Regions from separate parts of the Homo sapiens genome. Here region 2 is linked to region 1. The links are contacts of gene promoters, found by promoter capture Hi-C in blood cells and fetal thymus (Javierre and others, 2016). All regions are on one chromosome and are shown on one strand. Each heading gives the region's core, a stretch centred on a gene start or on the middle of the fragment in contact. The rest is flanking DNA. Distances are from core to core; before and after follow the strand shown.

The links. Contacts are between HindIII fragments. The CHiCAGO score rates a contact against its expected background, and 5 or more counts as called.
Region 2: a fragment that was not itself captured here is called in contact with the fragment with the promoter of BARD1 in region 1 in 2 of 17 cell types (total B cells and non-activated CD4 T cells); the score reaches 7.3 in total B cells.

Annotation. Positions count from the first base shown.
Region 1 is chr2:214,808,323-214,811,022 of GRCh38, reverse strand. It overlaps BARD1 (BRCA1 associated RING domain 1), which reads left to right and starts at 1,340. Exons shown (of 11, transcript NM_000465.4): 1 at 1,340-1,611. The coding sequence starts at 1,454. SNHG31 (small nucleolar RNA host gene 31) reads right to left here and starts at 794. Exons shown (of 4, transcript NR_110292.1): 1 at 591-794. RefSeq lists a silencer at 862-1,431 and enhancers at 1,982-2,061, 2,352-2,401. The HindIII fragment of the contact is 4,673 bases long and covers 613-2,700 here.
Region 2 is chr2:222,861,785-222,864,484 of GRCh38, reverse strand. All of the region lies in intron 1 of ACSL3 (acyl-CoA synthetase long chain family member 3), which reads right to left. Among named protein-coding and RNA genes, the nearest start is that of ACSL3, 2.1 kb to the right of the region's middle. The HindIII fragment of the contact is 661 bases long and covers 978-1,638 here.

The sequences.
Region 1 (2,700 bases), core at 91-2,590:
GCCAGAGGAGGTTTTGACAAGAGGCTAGTCAAAGAGCAGAGAAAAACTTTAAGGAGTTTTAAGAAAGGGAAGTGCCACGATGAGTTTTGTGTTTGGAAATGTTTTAGGCGGCCACACCGCAGTCTCGGGACTGGCTGGGACCTGGATAGACACTTGGATATCAGCTAGAAAGCTACGACAGGAAACCAGGCGAGGACGAGGCAACTGGGGATGTTGTGGAGCAGAGACGGAGAGAAAATGGGTGCATTCGAGACAAGTTAGGGGGAAAAAATGCAAGGACTTGGAAATGAACTTGGGGCGCGGCAGGAAGGCATGACGGGTTGCTCTGTAGGTCTTATCTGTAAATTACGGCGATCAGTGAAAGATCTGGAGGAGGAAGGTGGACACACTCTCTAACAAAAAAAACCCTTTTTGAAATTTTATACCAATATTTTAAAAGTAAACCAGATCTTTTCAGACATGCCTTTGAGCTGATATTTGTTAACTAGTTAGAATTAGAAACTTTCCTTATTTTTACTCAGTTACAATATACGCCACAGCTGAGGTGAGAGGAAAGAAAAGGTTGCTTTCTTAGGAACAAAGAGTGGTACCTTCAGTATCGTGGGCAAAGCTTTTCCAAGTCCAACAGCAGTCAAAACAGCGCTTTTTATAAATAACACTCAGCTAAAAGTTTCTGGGTTTGTGATTGTTCCAACGGTTAAGCTCGGATGAGGGTCCCTGGAGTCGTAGCTCCCGGGAAACGTCGACTGGCTTTCCACCTGGACTTCATCCGTCCAGGCAGCCCAGAGGGGCTTCAGGCCCCGCCCGCTCTCCTGCCAACTACAGCCTCGCGACTGCGCTCAGCCTTCAGGCCCCGCCCCTTCGGTCAAGCGGCGTGCTCTCACTGCACGGCGCCTGGGCCCCGCGCGCCGGGACCTCGGTTTCAGCCGTCCTGTCCTGCCCCGAGGCCCCTAGGCCCCGCCCCTGGGCCCCGCGCGCCAGGACTTCGGTTTCGACCGTCCTGTCCCGCCCCGAGGCTCCTAGGCCCCGCCCCCTCTGTCCCCGGCGTGTTCTCGCGGCTCCGCCCCTAGGACCCGCGCGCCGGGACTTTGGCAAGTTTCAGCCGTCCGGCCCCGCCCCCTCGGTCCCACGGCTCTCGCGGCCCCTCCCCTAAGTCCCACACGCCGGGACTTTGGCAAGTTTCAGCCTCCAGCCCCACCCCTAGGTCCCGCCCACTCGGCCAGCGGCTGGCTCTCGCGGCCCCGCCCCTGTGCCCTGCGAGTCCCTATTTTGGGAGCATTGCGGCCGCCGTGCCCCGCCCCTCCCCGCGCGCCCCGCCCCTCTGGCGGCCCGCCGTCCCAGACGCGGGAAGAGCTTGGCCGGTTTCGAGTCGCTGGCCTGCAGCTTCCCTGTGGTTTCCCGAGGCTTCCTTGCTTCCCGCTCTGCGAGGAGCCTTTCATCCGAAGGCGGGACGATGCCGGATAATCGGCAGCCGAGGAACCGGCAGCCGAGGATCCGCTCCGGGAACGAGCCTCGTTCCGCGCCCGCCATGGAACCGGATGGTCGCGGTGCCTGGGCCCACAGTCGCGCCGCGCTCGACCGCCTGGAGAAGCTGCTGCGCTGCTCGCGTTGGTAAAGACGGAGCTTCTTGGGGGTGGCTGCGAGGGCACGGGTCGCACAGTTTCTGGGGGCGGCAGAATCTTTTCAAATCTTCCGTTTCCTCCTTCCGTTCCCGCGCTGCAGTCGGGTCGGCGTGCGGTTAGCACCTGCCGGGGGATATAGTATTAACAACTTCTGCTTCTCATTCACTTTATTTTTGGGCGACTTACCGGCCTCCCCTTGCCCTGAATCCAACTGAAACGGTAGTTTTTGAACTTCAGCGGGCTGAAGAACCGTCTGGAGGTGTGGCTAAAAAAATGTTCATCCCGGTCGCGCCTCCAGAGTTTGAATCGGGCTGGGGTGGGGCTGAGGCTTCTGCATTTTTTACCCGGCCCTGGATTACCCCGCTGCTTTCCGGGAGCTGTGGCGAATTGGGCTGGCGGGCCGCCCCGGAGACCCTCTAAATTAGAAGCAGCTGCCACTCTAAGTTAAACTGGCCTTTTTGACATTTTCTCCGTGCCAGCTTTTTCGAGTGAGATGGGATGGAGCATCGGATATCTACCATAGTTGTAGATTGAAGATGGCACGGAATTTCTCATTTTCTTAGTTTGCTCAAAAGACTGTATGTCTGGTGTCCCCGCTCTTAGTGATGCTGTTTATTGTTTTCCTTCATGCTGTCACATTATGGGAGTCCTCTCAGGGTTTTCATTCCGTCCAAAGACATTTTCATGAGTGTTACTTCTTGCTTTTTTTCGTGTAGCTCTTTCTAGTATACAAACCAAGAAGGTTTGTAAAACCCAAGAAAGGTTTGTCTCATTTTCATTTCTTCTGAAAAGCATTTTTATTGAGCACTTGCTGTGTGTACAGCTAAGTATTTCTGTATGAAGATCACTGGCAGTTTTTTTGTTATTTGTAGCTGTCAAAAGTTTATATCCTTTTTGGACTTTTTTCCCCTTTGATTTCTAACTTGCAGAACTTAAGTTACCTAGTTGCATAAAGTATAAGTAACACAACTTTTTCTTTTCTTTCCTTTTTTGAGACGGAGTCTCGCTCTGTCGCCCAGGCTGGAGTGCAGTGGCACGATCTTGTCTCACTGCAAGCTCCGCCTCCCGGGTTCACGCC
Region 2 (2,700 bases), core at 59-2,558, 8.1 Mb before region 1:
TGGCTGTCCTCTGACCTTCCTGGCCACTCTTGTCTCCTTGACAAGCTCAACCTCCTCTGCCCAGCTCCATCCCAGGCCTCCTTCTCTTCTTATTCTATAGCCTCCCCACAGGCAATCTCACCCATACCCATGGTTTGAGCTCTTGCCTCTACATGGAGGTCTTCAAAACGGTAAATGGCCACCCCAATTCTCAGCACAAAACCAGTACCTCAATAAAGGCCTCAAAGGCAGCTCCAGCTGAACACTTCCAAAACTAAAGTCATGCCCTTCCCATATCCAGAACCTAGTTCTCTACCAGTTAAGCCCCAGCTCAGTGAATAGCACACATACCTCTTTAGTTGCATAGGTCTGAAACCTAGTAATCACTTAGCACCTCTTTCTCCCACTCCATTTACTATTTATCACCATATCCTGACAATTTTTTATCTCCATTTTCTCAGTATTTCTGTTTATCATATATGGCTCTTAAAAGGATCAGATGAGATATGCTAGCACTTTGAAAAAAAAAAACCTTAAATTTGAGTATTAGTATACATTAACTGAAATCTCTTTGAAAGCAGTAACTTTGGCAAGTTCATCTTTTTTATTTATGCCACATGGTACCCCTAGGACGGTGTTTTGCATGCAGATGGCCATTAAGTAAATATATTGCAATGTATTATTTGAATTGGCTTCATACATGTTCAACTGAGACATTTATATATTTTTAACAATCTATATTTCCCAATCCAGCCATCAAAAAATGATCTCCTAAGATGATGAGACTTTTAAGTTAAATGACCCTGTGAAGCGTATGCTACAATGGATACTTTTGAGTCATTATGATGCTCGTTGTTTTAAAAGCCTATCACCCTTGGCCTAGCTTTCCTAAAAAAAATCTAAATCCAATATTCAAGCCCAAATCTCACATAAAAGAGTCTTACTCCCCCTTACAGTTCATTTTGAGTGGGAGAAAGTATTAGAGGACTATTTAAGCTTTAAGTACCCTGAAGGCAGACAGAATGACAACTTGTAAAGTTGCCTATCTCATTTTCGTATCTTGCAATGAGAGCCGGGATGACATTCTGAGTATGAAATACACTGTGCAATGAAAAGAATTATTGTTGCTGACAACTTCCCAAACTCTTGCATTATGTACATAATTGCAGGCTCAGATTTCAAGACTGTCCTCTAGCAAAATCTCACCACATCAATTCAAAAAACAGCTCCCTAGACTAGATTTCCATCTACATCACAATCTTGCTCATAATCCTCATTCACACAATACTTTTCCTTCATCGTACCTATCAAACTTGCAACCACCTATCCGTTTGTATGACCATTTGCTTCTTGTCTATTTTTCCCTCTATTCACAGCTGTATTCCCAGCACCTAATAAGGTGCCTGACATATCACAAAAATTAAATGGCTCTAGGTGAGTCAATTAATCAAATGAGGAATGAAACAGTCACTTAACTGGAACCAAACAGCAGGGAAACACAAAAGCAAATGAAACAGACCTCGAGGCTTTAAGATCTGATTCTCACCCCAAACCAGACAGAGGATGATTTTCCCCTTATAATTTGTGCGTTCTTCATTTCTCCCATTCTTCCTTTCTTCCTTCAAGGAGAACATTTTAGACCCTCAGAATATTTAAGCTTTAAGTCACTGAGTCTAAAGCCTTACAAATTCAGTAACTGAGATCCAAAGATACGAGGTGACTTGTCACCTTGACCCTTAGGTCCAATGGACCACTCTGCCCCACACCCAATGTCATCCTACAAAACCAATATTTTTATACAAAAGAGAAACCAGGAAAAGTCTAGAGAGAAAACGCATGCGACAATTAGAAGGCTTACTCATCCCCAAGTGTGAGGAACTGCCCAGAAAAATGCCAGAAAACAAAATCAAGTCTGTGCAAAAGATTCCCATGTCACACCACCTGTCCCCTATAATACCCTTCTAATACACTTTCAGGAGCAACTCATCAGCACCCTTAACTCTCAGAACTAATTTGGGGAAACAAAATAGGTTGATAAACATGAAAGAAGGTATCATCAAACTACAACTCTCCTGGCCACCCAGACTAAAATCCACTGTGGAAACTATTCAGCCAGCCACCAAGGAGAGGCAGCAAAATATAGTGCTTAGATTTCAGAGCTCTGGATTTACACAGGCCTGTCTGAATCCCAGCTTCTTACTAGCTGAGATCTGAGGCAAGCTAAGTCGTCCAATCTGCAGTTTCTCCCGCTGTAAAATGGGAATAACCCCCACCCCAGAGGACTGTTAACAGTGTGAAGACACTGTACATAAAGCTCTCCAAACAGTGCGTGGCATGTAATAAAAGCTCAATAAATGTCAGCTATTTGTCATTCTTTTCAGCTATAATTTCGTTCACAAAGCCTACTGCCTTTCTAGCTTCCATATAATTTTAAAGACATTCCTCCAGCCTTTTCATTTTCGAGGGATCTTTTATACAGCAGCTTAGAGCACACTTTCTAGTATCAGACTTCCTGCGAAAACCATTTGAAAACCTGTGCCTCGGGCTCCTCATCTGTGAAACGAGCCTGATAACACCTACCCCACAGGACTGCTGGTAGTAAGCAGTCCCCGAGTTACCCAACCTATCAACAGTATATGATTAAAACGCACTTGGGGAAAAGCAAAGCTGCAACTCTCAAACCCCAAACGACAGTCTTAATCCCAGTCCCACCACCACGAT